2 separate regions of the Homo sapiens genome follow, and region 2 is linked to region 1. Evidence: promoter capture Hi-C in 16 types of primary human blood cells and fetal thymus (Javierre and others, 2016). All regions are on one chromosome and are shown on one strand. The core of a region is centred on a gene start or on the middle of the fragment in contact, and the rest is flanking DNA. Distances in the headings are between cores, read along the strand shown. Region 1 holds the start of FAM99B (family with sequence similarity 99 member B). Region 2 has its middle 17 kb from the start of SYT8.

What was found. Contacts are between HindIII fragments. The CHiCAGO score rates a contact against its expected background, and 5 or more counts as called.
Region 2: a contact is called between a fragment that was not itself captured here and the fragment with the promoter of FAM99B in region 1, in 7 of 17 cell types (naive CD4 T cells, fetal thymus, total CD4 T cells and 4 more). The highest score is 7.0, in naive CD4 T cells.

The regions. Positions count from the first base shown.
Region 1 is chr11:1,683,133-1,687,509 of GRCh38, reverse strand. It overlaps FAM99B (family with sequence similarity 99 member B), which reads left to right and starts at 1,881. Exons shown (of 3, transcript NR_026642.1): 1 at 1,881-2,072; 2 at 3,208-3,316; 3 at 3,476-4,240. RefSeq lists an enhancer at 1,776-2,545. The HindIII fragment of the contact is 16,209 bases long and covers 1-4,377 here.
Region 2 is chr11:1,816,023-1,820,402 of GRCh38, reverse strand. No RefSeq gene overlaps it. Among named protein-coding and RNA genes, the nearest start is that of SYT8, 17 kb to the left of the region's middle. The HindIII fragment of the contact is 3,378 bases long and covers 1-3,024 here.

The sequences.
Region 1 (4,377 bases), core at 632-3,131:
AGCAGGTGAGGGGATCTGAAATGGGGTAGACAAACACATCGGGGTCTTACGGAGCCTGGAAAAGGAGTGTGCTCTGACGCCTGCAGCAACGCCACCAACCTTCACAGCCTCGTGCCGAGTGAAGCCAGCCAGTCACAATAGGACCAATGCTGTGACCCCACAGATGGAAGGCCCCCAGAGGAGTCAGATTCAAGAGGAAGATGGCAGAATGGTAGTCAGCAGGGCCAGTGACAGAGGCCGATGGGAGTGAGTGATTAGTCAGGACGGAGCTCCAGTTTCGCGCGATGAAAAGGTGCTGGAGCTGCATGGTGGCGACAGTGGCACAGCCACGTGCAGGTTCCCAATGCCACGGAACTGTGCACTTACCATGGGGATGGTGGGAACTCTCATGTACCCGCATTTGACCAGAGAGGAAGGAAGGAAGGGAGGGGGGAGGGAGGAGGGAGGGAGGTAGCAGAGAAGGAAGGAAGGAAGGGAAGGGGGAGGGAGGAGGCAAAGAAGGAGGGAAGAGGGAGGCAGGGAAGGGGGGAGGGAGGGAGCAGAGAAGGAAGGGAGGGAGGCAGGGAGGGAAGAAGGAAGGAAGGAAGTGAGGGAGGGAGGAAGGGAGAGAAGCAGGAAGGAAGGAAGGAAAGAAAGAAGGAAGGAAGGGAGGGAGGGAGGAGGAGGGAGGAGGAAGGGAGGGAAAGAGGGAGGGAGGGAAAGAGGGAGGGGGGGAGCAGAGAAGGAAGGAAGGAAGGGAAGGGGGAGGAAGGAGGCAGAGAAGGAGGGAGGAGGGAGGCAGGGAAGGAGGGGGAGGGAGGAGGGAGGGAGGGAGCAGAGAAGGAAGGGAGGGAGGCAGGGAGGGAAGAAGGAAGGAAGTGAGGGAGGGAAGAAGGAAGGAAGGAAGGAAGGACGGACCAGCCTGTTAGGCTGACTGACAGAGTACCCCCTGTCCTCCAATGCTGCCCACGGCAGGCATGTGGCAGTGGCTGACAGGGAGTGAGTCTGGAAGCGACCCTTGTCGGGGCAGCCTCCTTGGTCCTGTGATTCAGGACAGGGTGAAAGTCAGTGGCGGCCATTGGTGCCTCTGGCTGGGGTTCCTCACAGGGGCCCGCAAGGGGACAGCGAATGGAGCGTGGAGGGTGGAGGGCTCCTTCTCCGGACCGGAGCGATGGGTTCGGGAGCCATTCTGTGCCTGTCTTTGCTGCTGGGCTGAGGAGCTGGATGGCATGCTGGGAGTAGTGGGAGCTGCTGAGGAGTTTGGTCCTGGAGCGAAGAGGCTGAATCCGCATGTCTGGAGTCACCGTGGAGGGCACAGCTAGAGGGAGCAGCAGGGTGTCCCAGGGAGAAGACACCAGGGCTGGAATTAGAGGGACATCAAGGCTGATACTTAGAGGCATCCAATATATGGGGCCTGCCTGATGGGCTGCTCTCAGGTGGGATTTGGGGGGTGTGAGAGGGGTCAGTGCCCAAATGACCATGGGGTCCGTGGCCTGTATGCCCAGTCAGGTGACGACGCCATTCAGAAAGTAGATCTCATGGGGTGCCCGGCTGCTGAGTCTCAGGCCAGATCTGCAATGAGTGCGCTGCCCCAGGCGTGGAACACTCTGGTGCCATCGGGACCCAAGGCTGAGTGCACCCAGGAGCTGTGGGTCTGAAACAGCGGTCAGAGGTCACCGACATGTGAAGGAGGCCCCTGGAGTGTCAGAGGTCACCGACATGTGAAGGAGGCCCCTGGAGTGTGGGATACAGAACCCCCAGGTGTCCAGCTAGGCAGGAGGCTTTGCAGGACTGAGCAGGTGGGGAGGAAGGGCAGGGAGCGCGGCTGCCAGAGGAGAGAGGGCACTGGGGGTGGCTCGACCTGACGAGGCTGCTTGAAGGAGACACTCTTGGAAACTGACAGGGCTGCAGGCACTCCTGGGAGCAGGAGGAGGGTGGCCTGTCCTGGGCAGACCAGCCTCTCTGGGCTGTGTGGCCCCAGCTCCCTGAGCCCAGAGGGAGGTGAGGGTGAGAAGGCCTGGACCAGGCAGGACGCAGCCCCCAGGGCCCCTGCTGGGAAGAGGTCAGAACCTCCCAAGGACCCAGAAGGCCAGGTAACTGAGAACGGGGCTGCTCTCTGAATCTCCAGGGAGGACAAAGGCGGCCATGGCAGCAAGGGGACAGGGCAGAGGGGAAGGCGGGCAGGTGGATGTTGGAAGCCGCAGATTCCCATCCAGTATCCTAGAGGAGGAGACCCAGGGCTGTGTCCTAGGAGGCCCAGGAAGCCTGGTCAGCCTGGAGGCTGAGGGCGGGCCCGGGAGATCTGGTAAGGACATCAGTGTCTCCACGAAGAGCAGCAGGGTCTCAGCCCATGGCAGCCGCAGGCCCCATGACTGGGGCCGCAGCCTCCAGAGCCGCCACAGCAGCCCATTGTTCTGGGGGGTCAAAGGTGGAGGCTGTCAGAGGGGCAGTGCAGGGGGCTGCTGGGGTGAAGCCCCCTGTAGCAGCAGCACCCAGCCTGCTGTGGCTCTGCCCTCCTGGACCCCCTGTCCTCCTGGACCCCCTTCCCTCCTGGGCCCTCCTGGACCCCCTGCCCTCCTGGACCCCCTGCCCTCCAGGACCCTCTGCCCTCCTGGACCCCCTGCCCTCCTGGACCCCCTGCCCTCCAGGACCCTCTGCCCTCCGGGACCCCCTGCCCTCCAGGACCCTCTGCCCTCCGGGACCCCCTGCCCTCCAGGACCCCCTGTCCTCCTGGACCCCCTGCCCTCCTGGGCCCTCCTGGACCCTCTGCCCTCCTGGACCCCCTGCCCTCCTGGACCCCCTGCCCTCCAGGACCCCCTGTCCTCCTGGACCCCCTGCCCTCCTGGGCCCTCCTGGACCCTCTGCCCTCCTGGACCCTCTGCCCTCCTGGACCCCCTGCCCTCCTGGACCCCCTGCCCTCCAGGACCCCCTGTCCTCCTGGACCCCCTGCCCTCCTGGGCCCTCCTGGACCCCCTGCCCTCCTGGACCCCCTGTCCTCCTGGATCCTCTGCCCTCCCGGACCCTTTGCTGTCCTGGGTCCTCTGCCCTCCTGGACCCCCTGCCCTCCTGGACCCCCTGTCTGTGGCCCCTGCTCCCCTCCTCCTTCCCCGACACATGACTGGACCCCCCGATCTGCAGCCGGGGTCTGGGCACTGGGGGTCCTGTGGGCCTCTCGGTGTCTGGGGACAATCACAGGTTCCCGTGCCCACACCCAGCCTCTGCTTCCAGAACACACTAGAGGGTCCCGGCATCCTGATGAGTCCACTGTCCCCGCGATGGTTTTCAGGGATGGAGAAGGCTCCCTGTCCTCCGCTGGAACCCTGCAGCCGGGCTGACGGTACCCCCACCACCCACCCAGGGGCCCCCAGACCCTCCCCATCTCCACCGCCAACCCAGGCCCCGGCTGCGCACGCGGGGCCAGGCCGTGAGCTGCTGTCCCCGGATGGGGCCGCCCCGGGCTGGCCTGGCTCACTCCGTGTCACAGATATTCCCACAGAGACCCCAGCGAGACCTGCAGAACATTACAGCAGAATGAAGGAGAGCCAGAGGAAGAGGCAGATGTGCTGGCCTGTAAACAGTCTGATTTCCAATGTAAACCAGATTCAGGCCCACGACATCAGGTAAACATCTGCATCAGAGCCCCCGGCCCCCCACCGCCCGGGAGGCCCCGGGGTCCACACGGCCGACTCTGGGACCCGTCACAGTGACCGCCGAGACATTTCGTAATTAGGCAAAATTGATCCTTGCATTCCTTCCCTAAATCCCAAATCTCTGCAATTTTACTTCTTCTCAAAAATGAAAACATTTGGCAATTAGCTGATCCAAGTGAAAAAGGTAGAGAATGTGCTCTCAACTGGAAAATGCCAATTAAGGAAGCAGCTCTGACTTCCCACCCGCCCTGGCTAAGCTGGGAGCTTATCTTCCCCGAGAAGAATCTGCTGGGATAAGGGGGCTTGGGAAACACCGAGGGCAGGGCTGCCTCCTCACCTCCTCAGCTTCCTCTGAGAGCAGATTAGCCGTGGCCTTGTGCCAGCAGGGCCTGGGTGCCACACCGGGTGGCAGCGGGTGGCAGAGCCGGGCCCCGCTCCGGCACTGGGATTTGGGGTGGCGGGACCCAGTGGGGCACCCGCTTGTGGGCAGCACTGAGGGCGGTGACGTAGGCAGCGGGTGCCGGTGTCTGCCCCTCCATCTGGCCGGGCTCCCCACCCTGCTCCTGCAGCCCTGGACCTCAGGGCCCATTTGCGGTGCAAGGCGGCTCTTGGTCGGTCTCCACTCCTAAACATTTATGCGTTGAAAATGCCCATTTGTTTGTTTTCTTGTGTTCCATTTATGTGTTCTGTATCCTTTTTTACTTAATTTAAATAATTTTTAAATGTGAAATCGTTAAGTAACCTCAGA
Region 2 (4,380 bases), core at 86-2,585, 130 kb before region 1:
AACTCATGTGCCATCTTGCTCCTGCGCCTCTGGAGCCCCCTTTGATCAATTAGTGCCTCTGTCTTTTCATTCTTGCCACTTATTTGTTGAAGAAGCAAGGGCGCTCATCCTAAGGAGTTCCCAACATTCTGGGTTTCACAAGTCGCAACACAGCGTTTCAGGTGTCTTTCCTTACTCTATAGTGCTGAGGCCTGATCAGTGTAAGGTCAAGCCTTTTGGCAAGGCCGCTTCATGGAGGGAGATGGCACTTCCTTTGTGCATGGCGGGAGGCACTGGATGTCCTGGAACTTCCTCCTGGGATATGGGGCTGATCAGTGAGTAGGTTTGGGTGTAGCCAGCTACAGCCATAAGCCACTAAGTGCCCAGTGGCTTTTCTTTTCATGGTTTTAGCAGCTGCTGGTGACATTTCCTAGAACAGGGGTCAGCAAACTACAGTCGCCCCCGGCCAAATCTTATTCCCCATCTGTTTTTGTAAATAAAGTTTTATTGGAACATGGCCCCCACTCATTCACTTATGTACCATCTGTGACTGCTTTCATGGTACCATGGCTGTGGTGATTCCAAGAAGGTCCCCCCAGACTTTGTGCCGTGATTCCCAGAATTGTGAATAATTCTCACCCTTGTGAGTGTGTTATGTTGTCTGGCAAAAGGCATTTTGCGGATAAAGTTTAGGCTGCTGATGAGTTGACTTTAAAATAGAGAGAGGATCACGGTGGGCCTGGTTGAATCCCATGAGCCCTGTAAAAGCAGAGTTTGGGTTGTTTTTTTTACCCCCCAGCTGGTGGTAGGAGAGAAATTGAGAGGGATTCACAGTGATTCTCCTCGAGGAAGGCTCTCCATGAACCAGGGGAAAGGACTGAGCACGACCTCCTGCAGAGAGTCACCCTGCCTACAGCCAGCAGGAAGATGGGGACCTACAAACACAAGAACCGAATTGTGTCCACACCGTGAATGCCCCGAGAGTGGAGTCTTCCCCAGCACCTCCAGAGAGGAGCCCAGCCTGGCTGGCATCTGCTCTCAGCCAGTGAGGACCTAAGGAAAAAGCCCTACAGGAATGCCCAGAGCTCTGTTCCACAGGATGCACAGGATTTGTTTCACAGCTGGGTTTGTGGTGATTTATTACACAGTGATAAAAAACAGACACAATGACAGAGAGCAAATGGCCTGCAAAGACAGATGTGTTTGCAACTCAGCCCTTGTAGAAAACAACCACAACAACAAGCCCTAAGTTAGGTTTCTCAGTCTTGGCATTGTGGGCATTTGGGGCCAGGCTGTTAGTTTTCTATGGTGTGGAACAAATTGCCACAAACTTAGTGGCTTAGAACAACACATGTTTCTTATCTCACAGTTTTTGTGGGTAGAAGCCTGGGGCACAACTTAGCTGGGTTCTCTACCTCAGGATCCCATGGTGTCAGCTGGGGCTGCATTCTCATCTGAAGGTCCAACTGGGACAGGGCCTGCTTTGCATTCACTTAGCTTGTTGGTAGAATTCAGGTCCTTGTGGTTGTAGCACTGAGGTCCTCACTTCCTGCAGGCCACCCATAGTTCCCAGTCTTGTGGGCCCCTCAAAGGCAGTTCACACATGGCTCTTGCTTCTTCAAGGCCAGCAGGAGACAGAGAGAGTGACTCCAGAATATTATATACTATAATATAATCCCAGGTGTGACATCTACCACCTTTGCCATATTCTGTTGGTTAACACTTTCAAGGAGAGGGGACAACACAGAAGCACAGCCAACAGGAAGCAGAAATCACTGTGGTTCACCTTAGGGTCTTTCTAACCCAGCCAGATAATGTTTGCTGTGGGGCTGTCCTGTGCACTTTAGGATATTTGTCAGCATCCCTGATCCCTACAGCAACTCTCAGTTACAACAATCAAAAATACCTGTAGATATTGCCAGAGGGGCAAAACTGCCCCCAGTTGAGGACCACTGCCCTAGATCCATCATTTCATTAGGGGTTGCAAAATTGCAATTTTCTAAACTTGGTATTTCTTCAGCATTTATTTGCAAGAGTTCTTCTAAAGATACACTTTCCCACATCAAATATTTGGTACAGGGAAGGCAGAGAAAAATATTGATTATTTTAAATATATATTATTGTGAAATCATAAATTGAAGTATATTACTTAAATGTACTGTATTGAATGTGTGCAGTAATTCTCAATGGCTGTGGAACAAATTGCCACAAACATAAAGCTCCCATTTAGTATATGCACTTCTGTATGCCAGATGTCCTGGTATAGCTTAGCCAGATTCCTCACTCAGGGTCTCACTAGCTTGAGATCAAGCTGTCAGCCAGGCTGTGTTCTCATCTGGAGACCCAACTAGGGAGGGAGCAGCTTCCAGGCTCATTTAGGTTTTGGCAGAACTTATTTCCATGAAGTTGCAGAATTCATGGCAGCTTCCTCCTTCAAAGCCAGCAACAGAGAGAGAGGGTCTCTGCCCCTTCGAGTCTCTAACTTCAGAGAAGCCCTAGACTCTCTTACAAAGGGCTTGCCTGTTAAGTCAGGACCACTGAGAAAAATCTCCTTTTGATTAACTCAAAGTCAACTGGTTAGGAACTTAATTATATCTGCAAAGTCTCTTCACTTTTGCTTTAATCTCTCAGTCAAAGAAAAATCACAGATTCTGCCCTGCCTCAGGGCAGGGGATTAAATAAGGCCATTACTCACTGGAGGCCGCATTAGGGTGTGCCTGACACAATGCCCTTCCATTCATTGAACTTATTGTCTTTACTGGTGACCATGTGGTCCCACATTTGGTCAATGGGGATACATTTAAGTTGACTGGTATGTCATCTTGAAATGACCTCAGTAGTCTTTGATTGTTTCTTAGCTTTCTGATGCAATGAGAAGTTCCAGGTTTATCTTATGTCATGGCTATGTCATGGCTCAGCCCAGAACCAGTCATTTCTCCAAGGGTTCACGGTTCTTTTTGAAGGGAGTTTGGTGGGTATTTAGAGGTCCCACTTTGGGTGCCAGGGTGCTCATTGCTACTAGTCTATTTTCATTGTTTCTAAGCTTTTACTGTGGACAGAATTAGGCAAGACCTATTTTTCCAGTTTTTGTATGGTGGTAAAATATGTGTAACAAAATTTACCATCTTCTAAGTGCACAGTTCCGTGGCATTCAGTACATTCGCGCTGCTGTCATCCCACTATCCAGCTCCAGAATGCCTTTTGTCTCGAAAAGCAGCAGCTCTGCTCCCATTAAATCCAACTCCCCCTCCACCTCCCCCAGCCCCTGGCACTCGCCATCCTACTTTCTGTCACTATAAATTTGACTACTCTAGGGACCTCATACAAATAGAATCATACAGTATTTGTCTTTTCTTTTTTCTTTTTTTGACTGGCTTAGGAAATAACTTTTTTTTGTTTTGTTTTTTTAAGATAAAGTCTTGCTCTGTCACCCAGGCTGGAGTGCAGTGGCATGATCCCAGCTCACTACAACCTCCACCTCCTGGGTTCAAGCAATTCTCCTGCCTCAGCCTCCTGAGTAGCTGGGATTACAGGCATGCACCACCATGCCCAACTAATGTTTGTATTTTTAGTAGAGACAGAGTTTCACCATGTTGGCCAGGCTAGTCTTGAACCCCTGACCTCAAGTGATCCACCCGCCTAGGCGTCTCAAAGTGCTGGGATTACAGGAGTGAGCCACTGTGGCCCAGCTGGAAATATATATTTTTAAAGGTAAATATATCATGGAATCATACTGATATTTCTAATTTACCTACAGGATTTTAAGTTTCTTTCTTGACTTCTTGGAGTGCATACGTTTATCTGAACCGTTTTATGACTGTGAACTGTTTTATGTGAACTGTTTTATGACTGAAAAAACTACAGGGCACAGGCAGGTTGCTCAGCATCCTGGTTGCTGTCTCTTTCAGGTGCCCCTTGCCCCTTTTTGCAAGCTTTATTTTTATTTTTTTGAGACAGAGTCTTGCTGTATTGCCCAGGCTGGAGTGCAGTGGTGTGATCTCGGCTCACTGCAACCTCCGCCTCCTGGGTTCAAGTCGTTCTCCTGCCTCAGCCTCCTGAGTAGGTGGGGCTGCAGGCGCCCACCACCTCACCTGGCTAATTTTTGTATTTTTAGTAGAGACGGGATTTCGCCATGTTGCCCAGGCTGGTCTCAAACTCCTAGCCTCATGTGATCTGCCCGCCTCATCCTCCCGAAGTGCTGGGATTACAGGCATGAGCCATGGCGCCCGGTCTCTTTTTGCAAGCTTTGATTGACAGTTCCATCTTTTAAAAGATATTTATTCACACCCCAAAACCTTTCTTAGTAAACGACAGTGTGTTAATCCCCATCTGGTCTGCCCCATGTTGAGTGCCCCAGACACGGGTCTGGGAGACCAGCCACAGCTTTGCCCAGAGCCTCTC